Linked DNA regions of Homo sapiens: region 2 is linked to region 1. Evidence: promoter capture Hi-C in 16 types of primary human blood cells and fetal thymus (Javierre and others, 2016). All regions are on one chromosome and are shown on one strand. The core of a region is centred on a gene start or on the middle of the fragment in contact, and the rest is flanking DNA. Distances in the headings are between cores, read along the strand shown.

Region 1 (7,007 bases), core at 3,211-5,710:
GTCGAATGGAACAGAATAGAGAACCCAGATACAAATCCATGCACTTACAGCCAACTCATTTTCAACAAAGGAACCAATAACATACGTTGGAGAAAGGGACAGTCTTTTCAATAAATGATGCTGGGAAACTGAATAACCATATGCAGAAGAATGAAACGAGACCCCTATCTCTCACCATAAACAAAAATCAAATAAAATGGATTAAAGACTTAAATCTAAATCCTGAAACTATGAATCTACTAGAAGAAAACATTGAGGAAACACTCTAGGGCATTGGTCTGGGCAAAAAATTTTTTGTGTAAGACCTCAAAAGCATAGGCAACAAAGGCAAAAATAGACAAATGGAATTACATCAAACTAAAAAGCTTCCGCACAGCAAAGGAAACAACCAACAAAGTGAACAGACAACCCCACAGAATAGGAGAAAATACCACAACCTATCCACCTGACAAGGGATTAATAACCAGAATATACAAGGAGCTCCAACAACTTTATAGTAAAAACACAAATAATCCAGTTTAAAAATGGACAAAAGAGATCCGAATAAACATTTCTCAAAAGAAGACATAAAATTGCTAACAGGTATATAAAAGAATGTTAAACATCACTAATCATGAGAAAAATGCAAATCAAAAGCACAATGAGCTATCTTCTCACCACAGTTAAAATGACTTTTATCTGAAAAACAGGGAATAACAGATGCTGGCGAGGATTTGGAGAAAGGGGAATCATTGTACACTGTTGATGGGAATGTAAATTAGTACAACCACTATGGAGAACAGTATGGAGGCTCCTCAGAAAACTAAAAATAGAATTACCATATGATCCAGCAAATCCACTACTGGGTATATATCCCAAAGAAAAGGAATCAATATACTAAAGAGCTATCTGCATTCCCATGTTTACTGCAACAATATTCACAATATCCAAAATATGGAATCAACCTAAGTGGCCATCAATGGATGAATGGATAAAGAAATGTGGTGTATGTACATAACGGAATATTATTCAGTCATAAACAAGAATGAAATCCTGTCATTTGCAGCAATATGGGTGGAACTAGAGGCCATGATGTTAAGTAAATAAGCCAAGCACAAAAAGACAAATATTGCATATTCTCACTCATACGTGGGAGCTAAACAAAAAAACAAGTGGATTTCATGAAGATAGAGAGTAGATTGGTGGTAACCAGAGTTCAGAAAGAGTAGAGGTAGGGGTCTGAATAGAGGCTGGTTAAGGGGTATGTATTAGTCTTTTTTCACACTGCTATAAAAAAATGCCTGAGACTGGGTAATTTATAAAGAAAAGAGGTTTAATTGACTCACACTTCCACATGGCTGGGGAGGCCTCAGGAAACTTACAATCATGTTGGAAGAAGAAGCAGTCACCTTCTTCACAAGGTGGCAGGAGAGAGAAGAACAAAGGAGGAACTTCCAAACATATCTCACAAACCATCAGATCTTGTGAGAGCTCACTCACTGTCATGAGAACACCATGGGGGAAACTGCCCCTTGTGATCCAATCACCTCCCTCCCTCCACTTGTGGGAATTACAGGTCCCTCCCTCAACACGTGGGAATTACAATTCAAGATGAGATTTGGGTGGGGACACAGAGCCAAAACATACCAAGGTGTAATACACAGTTAGACAGAAAAAATAAGACCTGGTGTTCAATAAACCAGTAGGTTAGCTATGGTTAACATTAACCTACTGTACATTTCAAAATAGCCAGAAGAGAATCATTTGAATATTTCCGGCATACAGAAAAGACAAATACTTGGCGATAGATATCCCAATTTCCCTGCTTTGATCTTTACACATAATATTAATCAAATTATCACATGTACCCCCAAAATATGTGCATCTATTATATACCAATTTTTAAAATTAAGTTAAAAATTAAATTTTGGGTTTTGCATGTGAAAAAAGAGAGAATATGGGAGAAAAGAAATTGGAAACATCCCTTAGGGACAATTTTTTTAGGAGTTTTGCTGTAAAGCAAAGCAGAGAAATGAGGTAGTGGCTGGAGAGAAATAGGGTGCAAGGTAAGGGGTTTTATTTATTTTATGGACAATATTACAGTGTATTCATTAGTATGCTGATAATTCAGTACAGAATGAAAATCTTGAAATACAGAAGAGAGAGAAGGACCTCATTCATGAGAAAGCATTTAACATCCAGGGTGCAAAAGAATTTTCTCATATAGGAACTAGGGCCAGTGACTCAGAATGAAAAGTAGAGCATACAGTTTCTAATGCAGAGAGGAGGGCAGATGTGCCTGTGAGGCGGTATAGAAGTTCTCTTTACTCAGTAACAGAAAGCAAAGTCATCAGCACTCAGTGAGATGGGAGGAGTTGTTGGCGGCTTGAAAAGAGAGTAGAAGACCAGGCATGGTGGCTCAGCCTGTAATCCCAGCACTTTGGGAGGCTGAGGTGGGACGATCGCTTGATCCCAGGAGGTGGAGACCAGCCCGAACAACATGGTGAAACTTCATCTCTTAAAAAAAAAAATACAAAAATTAGCCTGGTGTGGTGGCGCAAGCCTATAGTCCCAGCTACTTAGGAGGCTGAGGTGGGAGGGTTGCTTGTGCCCAGGAAGCAGAGATTGCAGTCAGCCAAGATCGCACTACTGAACTCCAGCCTGGCTCAAAAAAATAAATAAATAAATAATGAAAAGAGAGTAGAACCTGTGAAATAGTCATTTAGGAGAATGGATGGACTAAGAAATGTAGAAGGATAGCCAGGCAGCGTGAAGGGCCCACTTGAACTTAATGGTTATAAACTGAAAATGAAACCAATCATCCCAGCCATGTGGTTTTCTCAAACAACCTCTGCCGTACAGGCGCAGGCCAGGAACTGGATTCAAGCAGATTTGGGTTTCCATCAAGAGAATAAAACCAAGAAAGACTGGGACAAGAGAGTTAAGGGTAACGGCACATACACAGGACTGGCCATAACCATGCTCCATGGCCTCTTAAATTGAGTGAGGAGAGAAGTGAGCACATGAGGAAGTGAAGGTCAGGGCAAGGGTGGTAAATCTAAATAGGGAAAAGCTCTGTGGTTTTCCAATGAAGAATGAGGAGAGGAGTAAGGTCCAAGGGAGACATTTTGTGTTCCCCAGGCAAAAGGTAAGACAGCATCTCTGAGGAGGAGACCGAAGGGGACGTGGGCCTCTCCAAGCATCGCAGGCTGAAAATAATAGTCCCCCAAATATGTCCATGTCCTAACCCCCAGAAGCTGTGGATGTTAATTTCTATGGCAAGAGGGATTTTTTTTGAAATGTGATTAAATTAAGGATCTTGACGTCAAGAGATTATCCCAGATTAGCCAGCTGGGCCTGATGTAATCACAACAGTCGTTATTAGAAGGACCCACGAGGAGCCAGTGCCTGAGCATGTGATGTGATGATGAAGGCAGAGGTTGCAGTCATGCACTTTGAAGATAAAGGAGCGAGCCATAAGCCAAGGAATGCAAATAGTCACTGGGAACTGGAAAAGGCAAAGAAATATTCTCATCTAGAACCTCCAGGAGGAACTAGCCCCACCAACACTGACTTTATAAAGCCCAGTAAAACTTGATTTCAGACTTGGCACCTCCAGAAGTTTAAGAGAATACATGTTTGTTATACTACTAAGTTTGTGTTAATTTGTTGTGACAGCAATTGGAAACTAATACACCAAGGAAGGGGGAGGATGTAGAAGAGAGGTCCAGGCAACATCTCTTTCCTCTCCAAAATAAATCTGAAAGAAAGGAATTGGGAAAAGACCAAATGGGTAGCTCTGTGTCACTCGGTGAGAAGTGAAATAAACGTAAAATCCTGGTATCAACAACCCTTGTGTGCGTTTAGGAGAGTTCTGACTGCTGGGAGCCACTTGTCTAATTCCCTCACCTCCTGTGTTTGTTCCAAGATCCCCTATTTAAAATTGCAAAGTACACCTCCAGTCCTACACACCCACAAACGCACCTCGCCACACCCCGCCCAGCTCTATGCTTTCAGTACCACCTCATGACACACACGACGCCATATATTTACTATATTTATGGATTGCTTGTTTCCCCAACTAGAATAGGGCAGTGACTTTTGTGCAAGCATCTTGAACAGCTCCTGGTACACAGTTGGCTCTCAATTAATATCTGTTAAATGGATGAACTTCAGAGGTGAGATGGAAGATGCCGAATGGCAAATATTCACTTCAGAATGTTTTGAAAGGTAAAGATGAAATTATGGGTATTTACATCCTTTTCCCCCAATAGTATTTTAACAAATGAAAATCACCTTAACAGGTATTCCTAAAATAATTCTTATTTGTTTGTAATAAAAAACGAGGAGGAGGACTTGAATACACGCGTCGCTGACTCAAAGATGGTCCCCTCCGCCCAAGAATCCCGCTCCGCACAGCGCAGAGTTCAGGGGCCCGCGCCGGAAGTGGGCGTGGTTCGCCCGCGGCTTGCTGGGACTTGTATTTCGGGGCCCTAGGCGCGCGAGCGGTCAGCATCCGGAATCTGGCCCCTGCAGGCGTGGGGTTCCACGTGGGAGGTGAGACTGGCCGGGCTTCCCCAGCCGCTGGCAGAGGCGTTCAGGGGTCAGGAAATGGGTGTGCCGCGGGTAAGGCGCTGGGCCGCCGAGCTGCGGAAGCCGGGAGGGCGGCGATGGTAGGGCACGCGACCAGCGGAGGCGCGGCCCGCGGCGGCACGTGTGTCCCGGCGCCGCATTTCCGAGCTGCTGCGCCCCCGGGGCCGGGCTGCGGCCACACCGAAGCCTGTGGGGCCCTGCAGCTGAGCGGCCGCGCCTCCGATGGCCCCTCCTCCCTCCTGGCCGAGCTCTGGCCTGGGCCGGCTGGGGGCTTCGTGGTTGGCCACGCCGGCCTTTTCCTCGCCTGTGACGGGCGTTATTGCAGGGGGGTTTTCGGTGGACGTTAGGCGACGGACGGGGGCTCCTGTAAGAGACTGAGGTTTCTGTCCGCAGCACTGCCTTCGCTGAAAAGAGCTTGCATCTGAGCCCCCGCACCGCAGGAACGAGCCAGGCTCCTGAGAATGAGGTCGGGGAAGGCGTCTTGGGCAACCGAAATCCATCCCGAGAAGCTTCTCCTCTTAACTAGAACTTTAGGACAGAGATCGGGAAAGTCAGAGGAAATGGGCACGGCTTCGAGCTGCCGGCGGCTGCGGAATTTACCTAGCCTCTTGGTTTTGGGGGGAAAACTTGGCTTGTTTAATCGAAAGCCCTGTGGAGAGAGATGAAGGTGGTGACAGAAAATGCTTCACCTCTCACCTGATGGAGGGAGTGTGGGTGGAAGTGACTGAAGAAGCGTCAGAGGCAGGAGCGGAGTAACTTTTTCCCCGCAGTCTTGCTGGACTTGATTTTCATGGCTTTTTCTCTTTCCCTAACTCTGCCTTTCCAGGAATCCATCCCCTCTGGGAGTAAGAAATGACCAGGGTCCGGGTGAGTTGGCGTTCCATTTCTCCTAAAATGCCATCTCCCTGAAATGTCCCTGTGCCATGTGTTGTTTTCTTTATTGTCAGGCCCCCAGTACGGTATTTTATAGCTATGGATGTAGGGACATTAAGATACTAAGGACATGTAGCTAGCAGATGATGTCACCAGGGTCTGCACAGAGAGTTTTCACTGGCCCATCCTGCCTCCAAGAATTTATTCCACTCCTCAGAGCAGTGGGCTGTGCCCTCCTGGGGAGCCTCTCAAAGCCTGCCTTTTCCTGCCAGACATTTCACTCACATTGAAAGTCATTCCAAGCTATTCCATACTCATCCCAGTGCTAAGTGGTCTCAGCAAAACAGATAGAATGATAAACCACGGTGCTTTTCTTCAAGGAGCTTACCATCTTGATGAACATATTATATTACCTGTACACAAAAAAATGCATATTAATAGTGATAATTTATTAACTATGAGTCAAAAACGAGGAAATTCGTTAAATGGCAGCACAGTGGTTACAAAATCACTCTAGAAATGCTTTTCAACTAGGCTATGCATCAGAACTCTCTGTGGTGTTTTTTAAGAACTAAGCTTCCTTCTCTCTTCCAGACCTAGTGAAAGGAGAGTTTCACTCCTTTTTTATTCTGTTGATCTTTGTACATCCAAAGGTTTATTGTGAAATATCTCTCTATACACTATAAGTGTCTCTAGGGTAGGTAAAATGAGTTATTCATCCTTTATACTCAGGTTGATTTGTTCTCTTTCACTAGCATGTCTACATATTTAACTGTTCCAGTAAATTTTAAATTACCAAGTCGTACTTTTTTAAAGAGAGTTTTCAGTTGTCCCCATAAAACCATCTGTAGGAGGTTACCTCAAAATTAACCCTTAGACTCCCAGGGTATTTGAGATGGTCAGCCCCCACTTAGAATCCCATGGTGTTTGAGATGGTCGGCCCCCTCTTTGCCCTGTCCTGGCGTTTTATGGTGGAGAGCTCTAACTCGGCTAACTCTGAGAGAGCCGAAGGAAAGTGCCTTGTCCTTTGTTTCAGAGAGCAGAAGGCCAGAAATAAACCCCGTGTTTTCTTCCTTCAGGCTGTTCTTTCTCCATTAACTAAACAGGTCATCACATCAGAAGTTGTTTGAATAAAATATCAGACTGCGTTTTAAGGGAAAAAAAATGTTTTTTAACACTACCAGCAAAGGCCATCTTTTTGCTTGGCAAATACAGCCCTCACACACATGAGCTCTTAGAAAAAATCTGTTTAGAGGACAGTAAGCTGACTTGAGGTACTGAGAGCATGGCTTCTCTGTGCCCTGAAAAGTAATTGAGGACTTCAAGGGAGATTAACCTTAGTAGAATCAATACATTTTCCTTCCTTCGCTTCTGCCTGCTCCCTAATGATTAAGTATTCACTGCCGCTGCAACTGGGGATTGCCAGTTTAGTAAATTTTGAGATTCTGGTGTGTGTTACACAACAACTTTTTTAATTTAAAGGAAGGACTTCATTCCAAGCATTGTGTGTTTTCTATGTACCACACATTGTCCTTAGGTCTGCTGAAAGGCGGGAGTCTTAG
Region 2 (6,486 bases), core at 3,512-6,011, 930 kb after region 1:
CTAATCAGATGCAGAAGAACACATCTTTAATGTCCAAGCATATGAACCAAAAATGTCTTGGCTTATAGGGGCTAATCAGATGCAGAAGAACACATCTTTAATGTCCAAGCATATGAACCAAGCAGCACTAGCAGGTATTTGTCCAAGCATAGTGTACAGGTTAGGCACAATAGCATGCAGTGTACTGGCTACCTTGTTGACTGTCCTTAAATCTTGTACAGGCTGGTAGTTGCCAGAAGGTTTTAACACCAGCAGTAGGGGAGTATTCCGTGAGGAGACACATCTCTCTATTATTCCAAATTCAGGGAGTCATTTTAAGTGTTTTGCAATCCCTTGGTGAGCCTCTATGGGAATGGGATACTGATGGATCCACACTGGGTAGATTCCTCGTAGTAGCTCTACTATGACAGGTGCTTGATTTACTGCTAACCCTGGGGGATTGTCCTCCACCCAGACTCCTGGTAACTTAGGGAGTAAGTCTGTGAACAGTTTTTCTTTCTCAGCTGTACTCCTTTCCACACTCCTGACAACTACTTTCATAAAGTCTCCACTCCTCTGCCTTGGGTACTGTAAGAGTTAGTACCATAGCCTTCTTTTGCCCTAGGCTCAAGGTATATCTGCATTCAGTGTGAAGGAGATTTGAGCCTGCAGCTTCTGCAACAAGTCTCTCCCAACAACGGCACTGGGCAGTTTGGCAAGTATAAGAACTTGTGTTGGACTTCTTGGTTTCCAATTATACCTCTCTTTGATGTGAAAAAAGGTGTTTTTTCTGTGATACCTGTGGCCCCAATAATATTAGCATAGAGTTTTGATAACACCCTAATTGTTTGAGTCACAGCTGAGTGTTCAGCACCTGTGTCTACCATAAGGTCTATTTTTCGGCCCCCTACTACCATTGAGACCATGGGCTCCTCAGGGCCTAATGAGATGTAGCCCAGTCTGTCTCAGTCTTCAAGGTAGTCACTGACTCCTGCCAGCCCAATTAGATCCACATCGCATCCTACTATGCCCTGCCCAGCAGCAGAAGGAGGCCTTGTCCAGCCATTCTGTCCCTGCTTGTAGCCTTTATTCTTTTCTTTCTCTGGACATTCATCTTTCCAATGCCCTCTTTGCTTGCATCTCGCACATTGATTTCTCTCTAGTCTAGGCCAACCTTCCTGACCTGTCCTGGTCTCCTGACCTGGCCTAGCCCTAGCTTGTCCTTTACCATGACTGCATCCACGACCATGTCCATGTCCTCTTGCAAATCCAGCCTCTCTTTCAATCAGGGCTGCAGCCAAGAACTCTGCCTTTTCCTTCACTCTATGCTTGGCCTCCCACTTTGCTTCTTCATCTTGATTTACAAACACTTTAGTTGCCACTTGGATAAGCTGGGAAATGTTCATAACTTCAAACCCCTCCAGCTTCTGCAACTTTCACTTAATGTCATTTTGTGCCTGACTCACAAATGCCGCATTAACCATGCACTGATTCCCTGCCACTTCTGGGTCAAAAGGTGTGTAGAGCCGGTAAGCCTCACAAAGCTTCTCATAGAACTCACTGGTACTTTCATCTGGTTTCTGATGGACCTCTGAAACCTTTCCAGTGTTTGTTGCCTTTTTCCCTCCAGCTTTTATTCCTTGTATCAGAGCCCCTTGGTATCTCAGCAAGTTCAGCAGCCCTTAGGCCTGATTTGGGTCCCAGCCTGGGTCAGTTTCTATTGGCAAAGCCTGCTGAGCATACTTTCTGACATCTCCTGTGCCTACTGGAGCATTGCTTTCTAGTCACTGATAAGCCACTTGTATTACTCTGCAGTGTTTTTCTGTATTGAACAGTGACAGAAGGAACTGCTTGCAGTCAGCCCAGGTTGGGTTGTGAGTTAAGAAGATGGACTGCATCAGGTCGATAAGAGCCTGGGGTTTTTCTGTATAGGAGGGAGTATGCTGTTTCCAGTTGAAAATATCTGTAGTAGAGAAGGGCTGATAAACATAAAGCCGTTCTCCTCCTTGAACCTCATTTTGTGCATCTAAATAGATCTGTCCCCTAGGTTCTCTGAATGGCATCTGCAAAGCTCGGGCGTGTCCTGACCGGAGATGGCCGTCATACTGGAGTTCCTCCTTTGAATTATCGGGCAGTGACCCTGGCTCTTCCCTATGTGGTGAAGTTTGAAGGGTACTCTCCTCTGAGTCTGACCCTCCACAGGCAGCTGCTGGAGTGACTTCCTGCCTAAGCCTTGCCAGAGGCGGATAAATTGGAACATAAGGGGATGGAGTCTCTAGCTCTTCTAGTGGGGCCTGTAGGACAGGTTTTTCCTGTTTTCCTTGCTGTTCTTTCTCCTGGGCCTACACTTTGTGGGTCTTTTCTATGGTTCCTTGTTTTGTACGAGCCACCAGAGTCTTACAATAATTTTCAAAACAGGCCTGTAGCCATTTCAGATGGGTTTGAATCACGCTCAGCTAGGAGTCTATGTATGGGAACTGATCAGGTTGTCCAGGCTGTTCTCCAACCCCAGTGACCACCCTAAATACTCGGCCAATTATTTCCCTATCTATGGTTCCCTTGGCCGCCCTCCCTATGTTGAAGGAGAGGCAGTCAATTTCACAAAGTGTTCTTAGCCTCTGCGGTGTTAACTTCATTCCATAATCACCATCAGAGCCTTTCTTAAAGTTCTTCAACATATGTTCTAATGGAGTTGGCTTCAATACTTTTCCTCCTATTGCCTCCCTCGTGGCACACTTTCACTCTCACTTTCACTCTTGGATGCACCAGACAGGGTCCTATTACAGGAGGTTTGGATGCTGCTTGGCCAGGTCACAGCCAACTACTGCTGTGAAGCTACCATGAAGTGAATCTTGTCGGTCTTATGCAGTGACCTAGGTCTGGCTTGTCCCACACTCACCTTGAGGGACACAGTCTGCACTAAGATCTGCAACTCCCCACATCACTCCCCGTGTTGGCTTCTCCGAGACCACCTCTTTCACACACTTTCACACACCTCCCCTGCCCCAGGACTCCTCATCGGATGAAACAAGCCTCTCTCATGTCCCGAGTGAGCTTAGTTAGGCTTCCACATTCACACACATACACAAACCACTCCTACCCCAGGACTGATCAGATGAAAGAAGCCTTCTTTATGTCCCGAGTAGGTTCACACACACCAAAACACTCCCAGTTTCTGTCTCCAGATCCAGTGAACCACTTTTGCTTGTGTGGGGACACGAGATTCATCCAAATTGGCAGGCCACTCCTGCTGCCCCCAGCCACTCTGGGTTGGATAAGTGATCGTTCCGGGGAAGGTAATCAAGCTCCCCTTCTGTCCTTATGGGATGGGCTTTTCCAGGGCCCAACCTTATGGCGGTTCAGTAGTCTGCCAGCGCACTGCTCCTGTGACTGTCCTGCAACTCCTGAGTCGGTTCCGTTTGCGCTGTCAGGGCGAGGCTCCAATACATGGGAGCCGTTCTCCTTCTGGGCTAAGTCTTCCCCAGTGGCACCAAAGTTCCCAAATCTCCCGCGTCCTGTGGCTTTAGCCCACAGGCAAAGGAGACAGAAACCTGCCATCTCCAATCCCAGACAGGCCCCCAGAAATGTTATGGGACAATCAGAGACGGGAGAGACTGAAGAGAGTTCAGGAAAGCCTTTATTAAGGGGATCACCTGGCTCAGTAGGACTAGCGTCCAGGAAAGTCTGAGCCCTGGAGAAAGAATGCAGCCACCTTTTAAGCAGTCAGTGGCCGGGAGCTATGTGATTCATGAAGTCTACTTACACAAGCGAGAACAAAGGCAGTTGATCAGTCTTTTACATTTATCTATACTACATGTTCCACATCCTTGGGAAACTATGTTTCTGTAACATATGCATATCAACCTTGTAACTTTGCAGCTGTGCTAGGGAGGTGCGCAGGAACTCACTGAGCCTCAAGGAATGTGAAACTGGTGAGAACAGATAAGGCTCACAACACAGAAAGAAAAACAGGCAGTTAGTATTCTTCTGTAACTTAGACTATGGGCAGGGGGTGCTACACTACACTTAGCTTTTGAAGGAAAAAGTAAAAATTTCTTGGTGGTCTTTGATTATACTTGTAAAATTCATGAATTCCTTCTTCAGTGGAGGTTGCAGTGAGTCGAGATCATGCCACTGTGCTCCAGCCTGGTGACAGAGCTAGACTCCGTCTAAAAAAAAAAAAAAGTATTTGTAACATTGGCATACAATTTACATACAAAATTTACTCCTTTAAAAGTGTGTAATTCAATAATTATAGTCACAAAGTTACACAACCATCACCACTATCTAATTCCAGAACATGTTGATCACCCTCCAGCTTCTTTTAGCTCTCCCAGAACTCTCCACATTGATCCCACTCTGGCTACTAGCACCAGCTGGACAGTAACGACTTTCAGAGGTGAACACAATGTGCTTCAACATGCCTTCCTGAAAGTTCAGTTAGCAACTGGACAGCATCTGAATTCCAGTTCTGCAAAGCTCTTCTCTGAATACCTGAGGTACCAGCATGATCCTGGCACTGCCCCTGCCTCCGCTGTCTTGTCTAATTCTAGCTCTCTGGGGCCACTCTTGTGAGTTTCTAGGTTCCGAGAACCTTAATCTTTTCCATTGTTTCCCAGCCCTAGACAGGTAGCTGCTACCTGATGTTGTCATCCTGTGTTAGCTCAGTGTTCATTTTTACCATTAAAACACCTGCTTTAAATAATCTTCATCAAATTCTCTCAGTTGTAATACTTGAGTGATCTCTCTGTTACCATTTGAACTCTGATTGATTTAAATATACTTGCACATATATCAACAATAATTTATTATTACAAAGTCATATAAGTGGAATTATAATATTATAAGTCCTTTAACGTTTAATTAAAATGCCAAGAACGTACATTGTGTAAAGGGCCACCTGTTCAATAAATTGTGCTGGGAAAACTGGATATCCATATGCAGAAGGACAAAACTTGATCCCTACCTGTCACCGTATACAAAAATCAACTCAAAATGGATTAAAGACTTAAACATAAGACCAAAACTGTAAACATACTAGAAGAAAACCTAGAGCAAACTCTTCAGGGCATTGGCCTAGGCAAAAGTTTTATGACTAAGACTTAGAAAGCACAGACAGGGCCAGGCATGGTGATGCACTCCTAGTACTTTGGGAGGCCAAGGTGGGTGGATCACAAGGTCAGGAGATTGAGGCCAACATGGTGAAAACCCATCTCTACTAAAAATACACACACACACACAAATTAGCTGGGTGTGGTGGTGCACACTTGTAATCCCAGCTACTTGGGAGGCTGAGGCAGGAGAATTGCTTGAACCCAGGAGGCAGAGATTGCAGTGAGCCAGGTTGAAGCCAATGCACTCCAGCCTGGCAACACAGTGAGACTCCATCTCAAAAAAAAAAAAAAAAAAAAAAAAAAAGCACAGACAGGCCAGGCATAGTGGTGTACACCTGTAATCCTAGCACTTTGGGAGGGTGAGGTGGGCAGATTCTTGAGCACAGGAGTTCGAGACCAGCCTGGGCAACATGGTGAATCCCCATCTCTACTACAAATACAGAATTTAGCCAGGCATGCTGGTGGGCACCTGTAATCCCAGCTGCTCGGGAGGCTGAGGCAGGAGGATCACTTGAGCCCAGGAGGTAGAGGCTACAGTGAGCTATAATCACACCACTGCACTCCAGCCTGTGCAACAGGGTGAGACTCTGTCTCAAAATAAACAAACAAACAAAAGCACAGACAACAACAACAAAAAGAAGTGGGACTGTATTAAACTAAAAAGCTGCACAGCAAAGGAAACAATTATGGAAGTGAAGAGACAACTTGTAGAATGGTAGGGAATACTTGCAAACTATTTATCCAAAAGGGACAAATATCCTGAATATACAAATAACTCAAACAACTCGATGGCAAAAACAAAAACAAAAGTAATCTGATTAAAATGCAGGCAAAGGATCTGAATAATTATTTCTTAAAAGAAGACATACAAATGGCTAACAAATGTATGAAAAATGTCCAGCATCACTAATCATCAGGGAAATGCCAATCAAAATCACAATGAGGCATCATCTCACCCTAGTTAGAATGTCTATTATAAGAAAAATAAATAAGTGCTGGTAAGGATGCATAGAAAAGGGAACTCTTAGACACTGTTGGTGGGAATGTAAATTGGTACAACCACTATATAAAACAGTGTGGAGGTTTCTTAAAAAATAAAACGGAACTACCATACAATCCAACAATCACACTGCTGGGCACATATCCAAAGGAAGGGAAATCCATATATCAAAGGGATACCTGCACTCCTGTGTTTATAGCAACACTATTCACAATAGCCAAAATATAATATCAACCTAAACGTCCACCAACACATCAATGGAAAAAGAAAATCTGGTATATAAACACAGTGGAATATTACTCTGCTATAAAAATGAAATCCTGTCATTTGCCACAACATGGATAGGCCTGGATGTCATTAAGTGAAATAAGTCAGACACAGAAAGATAATTAC

Evidence for each region. The method cuts DNA at HindIII sites, captures the fragments that hold promoters and counts their contacts. A CHiCAGO score of 5 or more calls a contact.
Region 2: a contact is called between a fragment that was not itself captured here and the fragment with the promoter of ZNF239 in region 1, in 1 of 17 cell types (non-activated CD4 T cells). The highest score is 5.4, in non-activated CD4 T cells.

What each region holds. Positions count from the first base shown.
Region 1 is chr10:43,572,069-43,579,075 of GRCh38, reverse strand. ZNF239 (zinc finger protein 239) reads left to right here and starts at 4,460. Exons shown (of 4, transcript NM_001099282.2): 1 at 4,460-4,536; 2 at 5,399-5,439. RefSeq lists a silencer at 4,678-4,737. The HindIII fragment of the contact is 4,716 bases long and covers 368-5,083 here.
Region 2 is chr10:42,642,655-42,649,140 of GRCh38, reverse strand. It overlaps LOC105378268 (a long non-coding RNA gene), which reads right to left. Exons shown (of 2, transcript XR_945898.3): 2 at 3,599-4,148. Among named protein-coding and RNA genes, the nearest start is that of ZNF33B, 7.3 kb to the right of the region's middle. The HindIII fragment of the contact is 6,471 bases long and covers 1,526-6,486 here.